Regions from separate parts of the Homo sapiens genome. Here region 2 is linked to region 1. The links are contacts of gene promoters, found by promoter capture Hi-C in human tissues and cell types (Jung and others, 2019). All regions are on one chromosome and are shown on one strand. Each heading gives the region's core, a stretch centred on a gene start or on the middle of the fragment in contact. The rest is flanking DNA. Distances are from core to core; before and after follow the strand shown. Region 1 holds the start of HINT3 (histidine triad nucleotide binding protein 3). Region 2 has its middle 52 kb from the start of TPD52L1.

Region 1 (7,333 bases), core at 3,530-6,029:
AGTTTCCCTCAGCTGAGATGGTAGCAGGTTTTGGTGGGGTGAAAGAGGAGCTCTCCCCATAGTAGCTCATTCAGGCTAATTTATAACATTTATTAAACATGGGTATGGGGTGGTTTAGTAGGCAGTTGGATATTTGAGTCTGAAGTTCAGGGGAGAGGTCTATATTACAGATTTAAATTTTGGAGTTATTGGCAAATATATGGTATTTAAAGCCACGGATTGCATGAGACGACCAAGAAAGTGAGTGCAGCTAAAGAGAAGAGAACCTAGGACCAAAGCCCTTAAATGATGAGAGAGGTTTGGAAGAAGAGGAAGTAGCACAGGAATCTGAGAAGAAACAGCCAGTGAAGTAGGAGGAAAGCAAACAAAAAAAAAGTATGGTGTCCAGGAAATCAAGAGGGGAAAAGTTTGTCAAGGGAGAGGGAATGACCAACTGTTGCTGAAAAGATGAGGACTGAGAAGTGACCATTAGATTTAGTAATATAGTTACTGATGATAACAGTAGTTTGGACCAATTGGTGGCACTAAAAGTCTGACAGGAGGCAGTGTGAGAGAGAAAAGAAGACAGATTGGGAAGCAAACAGATACCTTTTTTGAGGAGTTTTGTTGCAAAGAGGAGCAGAAAAATAGATCCATGAGTGATGGGAAAAGCAATGTTCAAAGCTGGTTCTTAGAGTGTGTTACTGATAACAATAAGATTTATATCCATATCCTAAATTACTTTCAAACAAGTAATTTGATGTGTCATTCTGATGGTGGCAGGAGGCAGACAGGTTCCTAGGTGGGAAGGGGCAGGTCCCGGGTGAAACCTCAACTTCAAGCCAGTGACAAGCCAGCTGGGCCTGGGCTTCCAGCTCCGGGTGAAATCCATGGCCTGGAGTGAAGGCTACCCACTACAGATCTCCCTGCTGAGAGCTGTTCAGTTGCCCAGTAAAGCTCTTCTCCACCTTGCTCACCCTCCAGTTGTCCACCTAACCTCATTCTTCCTGGATGTGGGACAAGAACCTGGGACCTGACAAATGGCAGGAGCAAAAGGAGCTGTAACACTTTCCTGGCCAGTTCATTGAGCTGCGGGTGGGAGCTAAAAGGGGCTATAACACTTTCCTGGCCAGCTTGCTGAGCTGCAGGCGGTGGCATGGTACTGGCTGCAGGAGTGAAACGTAACAACCCTTCTGGGGGCCCAGACCTTGGGAATCCCTGTGCCAGAGCTGTAACACTGTAGCCTTCCTGCCCTCTGCTGGTGCCAGGTGGCCACCCCATGCAACAAGAAGCAGTGGAGGGGCAGGGCCAGCCCAGGAGTCATGGGCCAGAGCAGGGCAATGGGACTGAAAGAGTCTTTACACAAATCAGCTGAAACACACTCCCCAACCCCGAACATGAACCCCTACTTGCTGCGCTGCAGTAGATGTGAAGGAGAGAAGAGCTGTGGCCCTTCTTGGAGCCCAGATCTTGGAGCTCCCTGAGCCAGGGCTGTGACATACTGTAACACCCTCTTTGGGGCTTTGTGGTTCCTGGCATCTCTGAGCTTTCCAGCATCACCACATTTCCCTCATCCAGATGCTGGTGCCCGCAGTGGAAGCCGCTTGCGGTACGTCTGGTCCAGCCGCAACCTCATACAGAGTCAGCACCTGTGCGGGTGCCTGGAGCTGCCTGCCCCTCCGCAGCAGCCAGCATGCCTGGCTGTGTGCAGTGGCCAAACAGCGTGCTTGCACACACACCCCTCGCTGCTCTGCACCTGGCTTGCCTTTGGCAGGTGTGGGATCCAAGGCTGGTTGTGTGAGCTGAGCGCAGCCTGCTGGTCCGAGTGGGTGGAACAAGCCCAGTGGGCATGAGCAAAACTCAAGCAGAGGGGCTGCTGGCCACAGGGGTTTCCAGCTGGTGAAGCACCACCTGAAGCATCGGTGACAACTCTACATGCAACATGATCACGCATTAGGCATCATTATTATCCCCATTTTATAGATGAATGAACAGAAAACCTCCGCACAGGAAGATAAATAATTTGTGTCTCAGCAGAGAAAGGAAAATAACATAGCCCAAGTTTTTGCAGATGGTAAGTTGTAGAGTAGTCTGACTCCAGAGCCTGCTCTGAAGCAGGGCTCCTGCTAGCCCATATGGTAGCCCTGTGAAGTTAGCCAATAGCACCTGATTTCACAAGCAGATTTTAAGTTAGTATATTGTTATGGAACTGGAATGGCTGTTCCCCAGGAGGGTTATCCAGAACACCCACTGGCAGTAGTCCTGCCTATGTACATACAAGTGCCTGTATTTTTGCCTGCTTCCACACAGGACACATCGTCTACACAATTTTCAAGTACTTCATGTTGCTCCCCTCACTTCCAAAGTGGGAAAATTATCAAGTTCAAAGCTGAGGAATGAGAAGCAAGCCTTGGAAAGTCCCAGGTAAGTGAGAGAAGAAATCTCAGGTGTCACTAGGAGTGCAGTCAGAACAGATGCAACTTATGCTGGTGTGTGTGCTAGTGTGTAAGTGAATGGTCTCCTAACTGTATGTGTGTGGCCATATGCACCCAATGGGGGTTTATATACAAATCAGCTTTCCACCGCTCCAGAACTTAGCCTGGAATCTCCAGTTCTGTATGTGCTTTTCCATAAGTTAATACATGTGTATGATATGAATCAGCACACTCTTATCTGTAGTATCCTTGCACACTGTGAAACCTGAACACTCTCATGCTGTGACCTTGCTCCTAACCATTCTTCATTAGAAAATTGTTAAATGTCTACCTCCATGCAAAGCACTGTGTTGCAGGATTATTTAGGAATCAGAAAGACCGAGGGGTTGAGGAGGATTTATTATTTAGGTGCACCGGCACAGTCAGATTAACATCCGCTGAGCCCCGAACAAAGGGTCAGGTTACCTTTTAAGCATTTCGTGGGCAGGGGGCAGTTGGGGGGAGATCTGTGCAGGGGGAAGCATATTACAGAAGTAAGAAAAATGACAGTTATTTAATTGAGATATGCATTACATAATTTCTTACTTTTCAAGGAAAAACATATTTTATGACTTGAGTTTATCTGTCTAGTGACTTTGCAGCTGCACAGCTAGAGAAACAGGGTCTTCACAATGCCTGGGAAAGGGAGAGATAAGGCTCACTAGCCACAGATAGAAAAACAGGCAGTTAATTTTTAAAGGACTCTACCTCTTTCTCCTCCTCAGGGGGAACTGGGTTTTCTTACATACAACTGAGTTTTTGCTTACATATTCTTTAATTCCTGTTCCAACTGTACTAGGCATTATGGAAGATTCACACACCCAATCTTGTTGCCAAGAAACATAATTCCTAGCAGGATAAATAAGTACATAAATAGCTATAAGATACAAAGAGACAAATCCTACAAGAGAAATATTGAAAACCTGTTATATGAATTTGCAAGAGGATGTGCTTATGTCAGTTTGGCTAAAGAAAATTTCATGAAGGAGGTAGCATTGGAGGGGTGGCTTGGAAGGTAGAATTTGGAGTGAAGAGATGGAAACAAGAATATTTGAGAGAGAACTGTGTGAATAAAAGCAGTGATGTGAAGGTGTAGTACAGGCATGGAAATTGTGAATACTAAAATTTGGCAAAACTCTAATGTATTGATTCTGAACTCTGCTTTGGGGTGCTGAAAGGCAGTGAAGCTATTGTAGTGGTTCCCCAAACTACGGGCCAACTACAAAAAGGAATGAAAAATGTCTTGAATGTATATGTACAACAATTCAAAACACATACAACCACTTTTTATTACAACATAAATCCATTAAAAATCATTACTGAATTCCCAATTTGTTATGTATTTTCTAAATCAGCAAATACCAAGGGTGTAACTACTATAGTGAGCTAGTCCAACAAATTTTTTGGTGTTAAAAAAGGAGTGCTGTATGTCAAAAAGGTTGGTGGGTTTTGGAGTTAGACAAACCTTGATCTTAAACTCTGTCACTATTAATTAGTTGTGTGGGACTGGGCAACTCTGAGTTTGGTCCTTCATCTCTAGAGCGGTGGTTATAAAACCAACCTTGCGTTTTTTGACAATTAGAGAAATATATGGCATGTTTTAGATGCTCAGCAAGTGGGAAGTATCACAAAACGAAAAGCTGAGGTCAAATCAGAGTCCACCTTGAACACCAAGCTAAGGAACTGGTACTTTTTCTTTGAGCACATAGTTACAGAAGGTTTTGTCTGAGTGACAGGAAAATCAATAAGTAAGTTAGAAGGTGATTGCGTTGGTCTAGGTGAGGCATTATGAGGCACTGGCATTGAATTTCTGGGATATTTCAGAGTATTGACTATAGGACTCCACATCTACTTGTATATGAGGAATGTGAGATTAAAAAAAAGGTCGCTAGTTTGATCTAACTGTGCTGTTAACAACAATAAAAAGTCAACAGAGATGTAAAGGTCAGTTTTGGACATTTTGAGTTTAAACTCCTACAATTATCGTGGCTGAAAAAGCAGCAAACATGATGTCTGTTGAAAACAAGGCTTTAGGAATTTTGCTCATTCTTTAAAAACCTACGAATTTTAAAAATCAAACTTTAAAAAACTTTTTGTTTTTTTTTTTAAAAAAACGGCAGCGTAATACAATATTTGGACACGCTATACTATGGGCTTTGAAGAACGCCTGTCCAGAACACCCAACAAGCTCCATTATGTCAAACGCTCCCGCGCCTCTGTGATGTCACCACGACGCGCTGGGCGCTCTGCGACTTGGCAGACGTCGTGCGTCATTACCAACGAGGCGCAGGGGTCAGGACGACTCTCGGCAGCGCCATTGCGCGCCCTCTAGTGGCAGCCGGTTTTGAGGCCGGCCTCCGGCTTTGAAGTTCCTCACCGCGTCTCCTTCCCTCTCCCCAAAGCCTGGATCACCGCCCAGCGTCAGGCGAGGGGCGACGTCTCGAGGTAAAACGGAGGAGGTGCGGGACGCGGAGACTGCGCGGGCCCGGTAGCCCTGGAGAGGCCGAGGCTCTAGGCCGCGAGGGGCGGGTGCAATGGCGGAGGAACAGGTGAACCGCAGCGCCGGCCTGGCCCCCGACTGTGAGGCCTCGGCGACTGCAGAAACTACGGTTTCCTCAGTGGGGACCTGTGAAGCCGCTGGCAAGTCACCAGAGCCCAAGGACTACGACAGCACCTGCGTGTTCTGCCGGATCGCGGGGCGGCAGGACCCGGGCACCGAACTCCTGCACTGCGAGGTGGGCGGCGACGCGCGGCCGGGGGTGGGTGAGGACCTGGCCGCCCCTCGGAGCTCCGGCAGGGAGGCCTCGCCGTTGTGGAGCGGGTGCAGAGGATCCCGATCGCTACTCAGCTCGCAGAGGCAGGGCCGCTCTGTGTGGATGGGGCTCGGGGAAGCTGGGGATACGCCCACTACGGGCCTTTCTGCAGGGTCCGGGTGCTGATGACAGACTCACTCCTAGGGGACTGACAGGCAGTGGCTCCAGCGGTATCTTTGCTGTTCCCAGGGGCAAAGAGTGAATGACAGGGCCGAATGCTTTGGCCTATGTTTGCAGGTACCCAGGTAGTTGGTACAAATAACATTTTGTGGCCTCTGCTTTTATTACAAGGATTCTTCTCCACCTTCAAGATACTGATTTTAAATCCTGCACACTCTAATACCGATACTGATGAGAAAACTAGTAGAAAATAGGTAATGATAATTGTGGAAAGCTGTTTGTTAGATTGGCAGAAAATAGGCTGGAGGGAGTGGGTCTGAGGTCAAACTATTATTGAATTGCCTCTGAATTCCACTGTCAGTTGGGATGCGTGGACATTTTCAGAGCATGAAGACTTTGCCCAGATATTTTTAAACGGATAATCTGGCACACACTTTATTCTGTTGGTTTTACTTGTCCATATAGAAACAACTTTTTGAGAGAATTAGCTCCAAAGATTGTGTCTTTTGTAGTAAACATTCCTTTATTTTTTAAAAAATAAATATAATTCCTTCTAAGCACCTTGTTTTGGAGGTTTTTGAGCAAGATAAGGGACAGTCTGTGTCCCGATTTTACAATCTAAAGGGCGGAATGTATACAGAGGAGGTAGCCAGTTACAATGCCTCGTGCTGTGGTCAGGTGATTTTACAGTATTTTGTAAGCTTGTGGGAGGAGCATCTAACCCAGCTCTGAAGAATTAGGGAAGGCTTTCCAGAGGAAATGAGACATGAAGAAATAAGTAGGAGTTGATCAGATGAGGAAATGGAGAGAATAATGTCCCAGGTTGAGAGACCCCCCGAGAGGTTCAGTTTGTGTGATAGAAAAACTAACAGAAATTGTCTAACTAGTGCATAGAGTTTGAGAGGATGAAAGGCGAGGCTGGAGAGGTAAACAAGGGACCAGATTATTAAGTGTGTTGGAAGTCATGTGAAGGAATTTGTCTTTATCTGAAGAGCAAAGTGAAACTTCACAATGTTTAATGGTGGGTTGGGAGGAAGATGTTGCGGAGTTATAGGAAGGGGGTTGATCTTTGAAAGGTCATTCTGGCATCATTGTGGAGAATGATTTGGAGGAGACCAGTCTGGAGGTATGGAGACCCGTTAGAAGGCTAGTAGATTAATCTACCCTGATGATGGCCTGAAATGAGAATGTGGTAGAGGAGATTATGAAAAGTATATCAATTTAAGGGATACAGTATTCAGGAGGTAAAACAGGGAGGACTTGATGGATACAGGTCAGTGATTCTCAACTGGGGGCAATTTTGCCCTCCCAGGGTACATTTTGCAATGTATTGAGATACTTTTGATTGTAACAACTTCTGGCACTTCTAGGGGTTGCTTCTGGGACCTAAATAATGGATAAAAGCCAGGGTTGCTATTAACATGGTACAGTGCACAGGACAGCACCCCCACCACCCCATCAACACACACACATAAAACAGGCTTATCCAGCCCTCAAAATGTCAGAAGTGCCAAGGTTTAGAAACCCTGATTTAGATATAAGAGGATAAGGAAATGAAAGAGGGTGAAGTCAAAGATGATTTCCAGGTTTCTGGCTAGGGTAAACTAGTAGTGGTGGTACCATTTCATTAAGCTCGGGAACACAGGAGGAGAAAAGATGGCCAGGGGAGTGGTGGGAGGTAGCAAAGCGATGAGTTGAGCTATGGAGTTGTGGAGTTTGAGGTGAGTTTGAGGCATCTAAGTAGAGATGTCTTTTAAATGGTTGGATAGTCTAGCACTCTGTAGAGGGATCTGTATCTCTAACCCAGATTACAGGAACTGTCGGTTTATAGATGGAAACTGAAAAAGAAGGGAAGCGATGAGATCACCCATGAGGTAAAAAGTGAAGGGGAGGCCTACACAGAACTCTGAAGAACACTAACATCATAAGGGACAGACAGAGGAAGAG
Region 2 (7,676 bases), core at 349-2,848, 860 kb before region 1:
AGCTGCCCTTGGAAGCATGACTTTGGGAGGAGGTGACCCTTTCAGCTGAGAACACTCCAGAGTGGGTTCAGCTTAGAACTGTCAGTCATCAACACTCTCAGGCTGGGCAGTGAACGAATCAGCCCCCGGAGTGGGTGGGTGGGATGAGACAGAGTAGCTTGGGGCAGGAGGAGAGGTGTGGGGAAAGGTGAGAGGTGGAGGTGAAACCTGGATAGCACGTTCCAAGTTAACCTCTCCAGTCCTTGCTCACTGTTGAGACATTGGGATCCCCCCCAACCCCCGACATTAAACAGAACTCTTCCTTCCACCATGCTCTATTAATATAATCACCAACAGATTGGTTATTTATTTTTGCTTATATTATGCATGAGGCCCTCTAGCAAGAACGTGAATTCCATGAGGTCACGGATCATGTTCTATTCATTTTTGGGTCCCCTCCACCGTCTATGGTAACTGGCAGGTACATCATAGGCATTGAAACGTTTGAGGAACAAATTACAAAACTATAAAACAAAAAAGTTTTATAAGAGACGTGCCCAAGACGCCTCAACTTCAGAATGGTGAAGCCAGGGATTCCAACTGGGTCTCCCTTCTCCAGAGTTGTAAGTGCACTAGGTTAGAATCAGCGGAAGAGTGGGAAATGGGAAGAACACGAAGCTGGAAATGGGAAACCTTAGTTCCAGCCTTGGTTTTCATCCTCCAACTGGCATGCTAACTTGCCCTCTCTGGGCTTCCTAGGTCTCTTATTCCTTATATTGGAGGTGTTGTTATGGATAATTTCAAAACAAATCTTTATCTAGCGCCTACTATGCGTTCACATAGTCTGTTCACGTGTATGTAATCCTTACAACCCCTCTGTGGTGTTATTAGTATCCTCGTTTTATAAACAATGTGGGAAAGAAAACAACAAAGCTAAGCCCAGCTAAACTAAAAAATAAAAAATAAAAAATACAGTTCAATGGTTTGTTTGAGGTCACATAGCAAAGGCTCAACTCAAACTCAGGTCTCCTGCTTGCCAGTCTGCGGTTCCTGCCATGGGGAAATTCTGTTATCTTTGAAGAAAATAATAAGTAAGGGAAGAGAGAGATGCCCTTTCACAACTGCAAAATTCTCTCCTCCCCAGTTTCCAGCTCCCATCATCAACAAAGAAAACCACGAAAACAAAAACAAATCCGGATTGCCTTTGTCCACAGTATAGAGGGCGGGGGCGGGGGCGGGGGCGAGGGCGAAGGCGAGGGCGTCGGCGGGGCTGCAGCCTCCACGCAGAGACCACTGATGGCTCCGCGCCGCTCAGTTGATCCCTTCCCACTGCACGGAGCGGGAGACTAAAGGCCCACTGCCCATGGCTGCGAAAACCTTCCTTCGGGAACGCGGAGCTAGTGCACGGGGGCATGTTCTTCCCCCGCAGCCCTGGCAAGCAGAGGCCGGCGGCCTGTGGCGCGGGGCAGTTGTGCTGGCTGCCGGGCGGGGCTGCTCTGGGTCTGGGTGCACGGAGAGGAGCGCGGAGTGAAGCGCACGGTGCACACTGCGGGGCGCTGCTTGTCACCTCCCTGCCCCTCCCTCTGCCCTCCCCCGCTGTCCGGAGCACAGTCCCGGGAGGGCGGATGTCCCCTGGGAAGATGCGCGAGGAGAGCGACTGGGAGGCAGCTAGCAGCACCTGCGTGTGGGCAACACGACCCGAGGCTGTCTCCATTGCCTGCGTGCTGAAAGCATAAAAGCTTTTTTTTTTCTTTTTTTGAGGAAGTAAATGTGTAAATTAAATTACTTTGGTGGGGGTTAGAAAACAGTTTTCCTCAGTGTCATGGTGACATCTTCCATCTGCCAGTTCACTTTTCATAAACCTGCTGATACATTTTCTACATCTCATTAAAAAGGTAACCCAAAAGAAAAGTAACGGGGGGAGAAGGAGATGAAAGGGAGAGAGAAAGGAAAGACAAAACGAAGAGAAAGTTAAAAAAAATAGACTAGGAAAGAGGGCCCACCAGGAACCAGGAGGAGCCCTGGGGATGGGGTCGGGACGAAAGCTGGCAAGAATTTCGGCTGAGTTCCTTTAACAAGTAGAAACGTGCGGGGTTGTGTGCGATTTTCCTGGAAAATCCTCACAACCCTATGAGATAAACATTATTCCCATTTCAGAGATGAGGAAAGTGAAGTCAGGACAGAGTTGCATCATCAATCTGATTTGAATACCAAGGGCAAGTTTTTTCCCACTACATCAGGGTATCCTGATCCGTTTTAAACTATTAGAATCACCGTTGTTGCATTATTTATTAGCCTTGACAGAGACTGAATAACCTCCCCCATCACAGAGTCTGCAAGGACAGAGGTGTGATCTAAACCTGGGCCTGGGAGCCCTGAGCTATCAAGCTAGACTGCTTCTCAGAGCCCTTCTCTTGTTAACCAGGGACTCTGAGGCAGGGTACCCAAACTGTCCTTTGACATCTGCAACTCTAAAAGAGTAATTGGAAATTGGGGAATAATAACACAACAGATAGAAGTTTTTGTTCCCATCAAATGAGACAGTGTATATGAAAGTACATAGCATAATACCAGTTATTTTCTTTCTGACATTCAATTCATTGAAAGTTTATTCAACATTACTTATTCAGTTTATTAGTAGTAGTAGTAGTAGTAAGCATGTTTAGGGCCCCTCCTGTGTTATTAGACATACCCTGTATGTGGATCTTGGTGAAGGCTGGGCTCCAATCCTGGTCTTGTGGAGAGTACTAGGCAAAGATTTAGGACAAATGGATTCCTATCTTGAATTCTTACATTAATTTGCTCTGTGATATTGGCATAGCCACATACCTTCCCAGACTTTGGTCTAAAATCAAGGAGTGCAAGGGTAGTCTCTAAGATCTCTTTCAGCAATGAAATGTGGGTCCATGTAACCTATATTTAAAGTTAGTTCCAACTGTTCAGTTCTATTATTTCTGTAATCCAGACAGGCCCTGTCAAGCAGCTGTGCATCTGCATACTCCCATAGGCTGGGTCTCTACCTCCTCCTCCTCCTCCTCCTCCTCCTCCTCCTCCTCCTCCTAACTCCTACTTCTCCATCGTCCTCAGCCCCAGCATTTTCTCCTGCTAGATGCCATCCTGCCTGTACCATCCAGGGTGCATCACCATGGCCCCCTCTGTTAAGGACTCTTTGTAAATCACCACTGAGCAAGGCACTTGTATTAGTTTTCTAGGGTAGAAGTAGCAAAATACCACAAACTGGGTGGGTTACAACAACAAACTTAATTCTCTCATAGAGAGGCCTGAAGTCTGAAATCAAAGTGTCAGCAGCACTGTTTCCTTCTGGAGGCTCTGAAGGAGAATCTGTTTTTTGTCTCTCTCCTCGCTTCTGGTGGTTGCCAGCAATCCTTGGCATTCTTTGACTTGCTGTATCTTCACTTCACTTCAGTCATTGGATATAGGACCCAACCTTATCCAGTGTCATCTTTGGGGCAGAAATGTGTTCTCTCTAAATTCATATGTTGAAGTCCTAATCCCCACAGCCTCAGGCTGTGACTGTATTTGGAGATAGAATCTTGACACAGGGAACTAAGTAAGGTAGAATGAGGTCATACGGGTGGGCCCTAACCCAATATGACTGGCATCCTCATAAGAGGAGATTGGGACACAGGCATACACAGAGGAAAGTTCATGCTGAAGACATAAAGAAAAGATGGCCAACTGCAAGCCAAGGAGAGAGGCCTCAGAGGAAATCAACCCTGTTTACACCTTGATCTTAGACTTCTAGCCTCCAGAACTGTGAGAAAATAACTTTCTATTGTTTAAGTCCCTCCCACTCCAGGTCTGTGGTACCTTGTTATGACAGCCCTAACAAAGGAATACAGACCTTCACTTAAATACTACAATTACATCCACAAACACCCTATTTCAAATAAAGTCACATTCTGAGGTTCCAAGAGGACATTAACTTTTGGGAAGACACCATTCAACCTATTACAGCACTTTTCACAGTTTCCTTCAGGTCTTTGTGTTCCTTCAAGGCAGGGACAATTATCCCCAACAGGGCACAAGTCCTGGCCCTTAATATGTGCTCTACAAAGGGAGAAGGAAGAAAGGAAGTAAAAAGTAAAAGAAAAGAAAGAGAGTAATAACAGAAAAGAGAGAGGAAGGAAAAGGGAAAAAAAAGGAAGGAAAGCTGCATGCTTTCCTAGTTTCCTCGTTTCAATTACATCCTTCAAAACAAAATACTGTTCTTCTTGAGCAAAAGATTTCTTAAAGCGTCTTTGAATTTCTGTGTGTATGCAATTTACTTTGAAACATGCAAAGGAAAGAAATAAGGGAAACGTGATAATATCCTGTTGCCTCATTGCTGGCCCTGAAAAACACTTCCAAGGGGTTGCCCAATTAAATATAATACACTCAGTTAAATTTTAATTTCAGATAGACAAGCAGTAATTTTTAGTATAAGTATGTCCTAAATGTGATATATATAAGTGTGTGTGTACATATATGTGTGTGTGTATGTGTGTGTATATATATATACACACATATATATATATACACATGTACACTAGACATGATAGAAAGAACATAGACATTGGGCCCATACAAATTTAGGCTCCAGTTTTTACTACCTTTTAGCTCAGGGACCTGGGGCAAGTTACTTAATCTCTTTGTATGTCAGATTCTTCATCTATAAAATTATAATAGACCTATGGGAAAGGGTTGTTGGGACTTTAAAATGTCTGGTATGTGCTGCTTCCGTAACTAGAACAGTGTCTAACACATAGTAATCAATGACTCAACAAATATTTTTGAAGGAATGAAAGAACACATTCCCTTCTTCCCTATATGGACTTCCCTGGAGGATTGGGACAGCCAACCCAACAATAGCAGGGGCCCTAGGACAGGCCACAGCACAGTCCAGGGAGCACCCCAGCCTTCCATGGTAGAAAACCCACTCCACATCCACTGTTCCTCGGAATAATCTGGTTTTAGGATGCAGGGGACATACAACCAATTTGATACAGGCAGAGTTTTCCTTCTAGAAAATGTGTGTGTTTTTATTACAGAACAAAGGCGACAACATCTTACACTAAAATTCAAAAGTCTGTAAACCTTAGAGAACCTATTTCCATATGTAATGCATTGAATTTAAAGGCACACTCCTATTTGTGAAGGTGATTCTAACTAATTTAAATGGACCTAAATAGTTTTTAAATAGCAATATAAGCAGATGCTATCTTATTAGAAAATCATTTGAGCAGCACATTTATTTCCTAGAGCTGGAATCAAATCGTTCTATCTCCTTCTACAGTATGCATTTTTATGTAATCAATTGGTAATAGTGAAAAATATCTTAAAAGTGCATTGTTTCTTGACAGAAGGCTATTTCTTTTCAGAAATAAAAATCATTGTGAAAGAAGATATTTATTCTTAATGCTACAACTGAAACTAGGGGTTTTGTTATTGACTTGCTTCCTAATCAAGAAACTTCCATCATATAAATAAGGTGGTCTGGGTAGTGAAATGAGCATTGATTCAGGAGTCGAAAAACCTGGTTTCTGTGCCTCCTCCTGGGTGCTGCAGCCTCGGACCAGGTGCTCAACCCTGGAGCCAAATTTCCTTCCCTTGACTATGAGGGGAACCAGCTCTCTCATATACTTATACCATATTATATAACCAATAATATGCAATAAAATCAAACTACAGCAATTATAATCCTCTTTTACAATTTTATAAAGTTAAATTTTGCTTTAACAACTATAAAATGGGAATAAGTGTACTTTGGATACCGTTCGTGTAGGAAGCCCAAAGTAGTATTCAATGAATGGAAACTCCCTTCCCCCTTCCCTCAAGCAAATCACTCTTAACCCAGAAAATGTTATTGACAACTGCTGGGTTATAATTGTGATTTTTTTCCCCCCCGCCCCCAATTAATATGCTTCCCATACTGGCCATTAATTCAACATTGAATGAACACATATTAGCTTGCCAACTTTGAATGTTGTTTTGCTCAGTTAGACATGATTTCATACCTTAAGACTTTTTAAGGCTTATATTTTTTAGCCTATCTACTATTTAAACTGGGTACAGGAAGTGCCAGTTTAAGGAGGACAGCCCCAAGAAATGGTCCAGGCATTTCATGAGGGAGATTGGATGATTTTCCCCTCAACCAGCGGCACAGAGGCCCTTTCAATGCCTAGAAATAGATCTCCTATTGAGCCTCTGTTTATCTCCTCTGACCATAAAAAGCAGCTGGCTCTGCAGGAAAGACTGGTGGCTGCAATTAACTCCAGGAGGCCAGAAGCCGAAATCCTGTGCAACACGAATAAAGGCTTCTCAAAGAACTTGTGGAGTCATGTTGCTAGCTCATTGCTAGAACCATTCAGTCTTCTGAGGAAGAAATCTGTGAGCTAAACACCAAACACATCACTGTAAAATTTCCTGTAACCACCAGCGGCACTCCAAATCATTCCATTATTCTCTGAGTTGCTTCACAGTGACTGGGTATTAAATCTGCTGTGTGGCTAAATGCTGATGGCATTTTGTTAAATGAAAAGCATTTTAAAGAGGATTGGTTGATCCAATTGTTCTCATATTCTATTACTTTGCATTCAAACTTAACTCAGTATTAGACTAATAGTAACTATGAAAATAAAAAGAAAGCAGAATCTGATTTTTTTAAGTCCACTGGAGGCAATAAGAAGTTTCTATTGGAACACTTCACATGTTGTTAAACAATTACCAGATTATTAGAAAACACTTTCAAATACCTCTTTGATCTTTGCTAAGAGCCCTGATGAACATTTTTCTTACTGCTTATATTCCCCACAGATAAAATACAAAGACCTGGAAAATAGCAATAATCTAATTATTAGGCATATGTCCAGGAACAGAAGTGAGAAGTAGTAAAGGCAATCAAATGTTCATCTGAAACCTATCCCAGATGAACAGTCCAACTTAACTTGGTGCTGTTATTCTTTTTTTTTTTTGAGATGGAATTTCACTCTTGTTGCCCGGGCTGGAGTGCAATGGCACGATCTCCCCTCACTGCAACCTCTGCCTCCCAGTTTCAAGCGATTCTCCTGCCTCAGCCTCCCAAGTAGCTGGGATTACAGGCATGTGCCACCATGCCCAGCTAATTTTGTATTTTTAGTAGAGACAGGGTTTTTCCATTTTGGTCAGGCTGGTCTTGAACTACCAACCTCAGGTGATCTGCCTGCCTCAGCCTCCCAAAGTGCTGGGATTACAGGCGTGAGCCACCGCGCCCGGCTGGTGCTGTTATTCTTAAACCAAAAAAAAAAAAAAGACTCCAAATCTTCAACCCAAAAATTTCTTTAAGGCTGAACAAATGTGTTTAAAGCTATAGGTAACCATAAGGTAACCAGAAATCTGAGGAAAGGTGTTGACTGATTACACTTGCTAGCAACTGATTGCCTCTATATGGCTGAAGTAAAAGGATGGAACTAGGAGGTATCAATACAGGGTGGTTGGGATAAGTATAACAATAAAGGTAAATATGGCTTTTTTTTTTTTTTTTTTTGAGACAGGGTCTCCCCCTGTAGCCCAGACTGGAGTCCAGTGATGCAATCATAGCTCACTGCAGCCTTGAATTCCTGGACCCAAGTAATCCTCTCTCCTCAGCCTCTCACGTAGCTGAGACTATAGGCATGCACCACCAACCCCAACTAATTTTTTTAGGTTTTGTAAAGACA

What was found. The method cuts DNA at HindIII sites, captures the fragments that hold promoters and counts their contacts. A contact is called where the count stands out against the background at its distance.
Region 2: a fragment that was not itself captured here is called in contact with the fragment with the promoter of HINT3 in region 1 in 1 of the 25 tissues and cell types used here (hippocampus).

Annotation. Positions count from the first base shown.
Region 1 is chr6:125,951,991-125,959,323 of GRCh38, forward strand. HINT3 (histidine triad nucleotide binding protein 3) reads left to right here and starts at 4,780. Exons shown (of 5, transcript NM_138571.5): 1 at 4,780-5,188. The coding sequence starts at 4,988. RefSeq lists enhancers at 4,793-4,892, 5,953-6,002 and a silencer at 5,063-5,282. The HindIII fragment of the contact is 11,405 bases long and covers 1-6,906 here.
Region 2 is chr6:125,098,316-125,105,991 of GRCh38, forward strand. No RefSeq gene overlaps it. Among named protein-coding and RNA genes, the nearest start is that of TPD52L1, 52 kb to the right of the region's middle. RefSeq lists a silencer at 7,091-7,324. The HindIII fragment of the contact is 8,655 bases long and covers 1-5,926 here.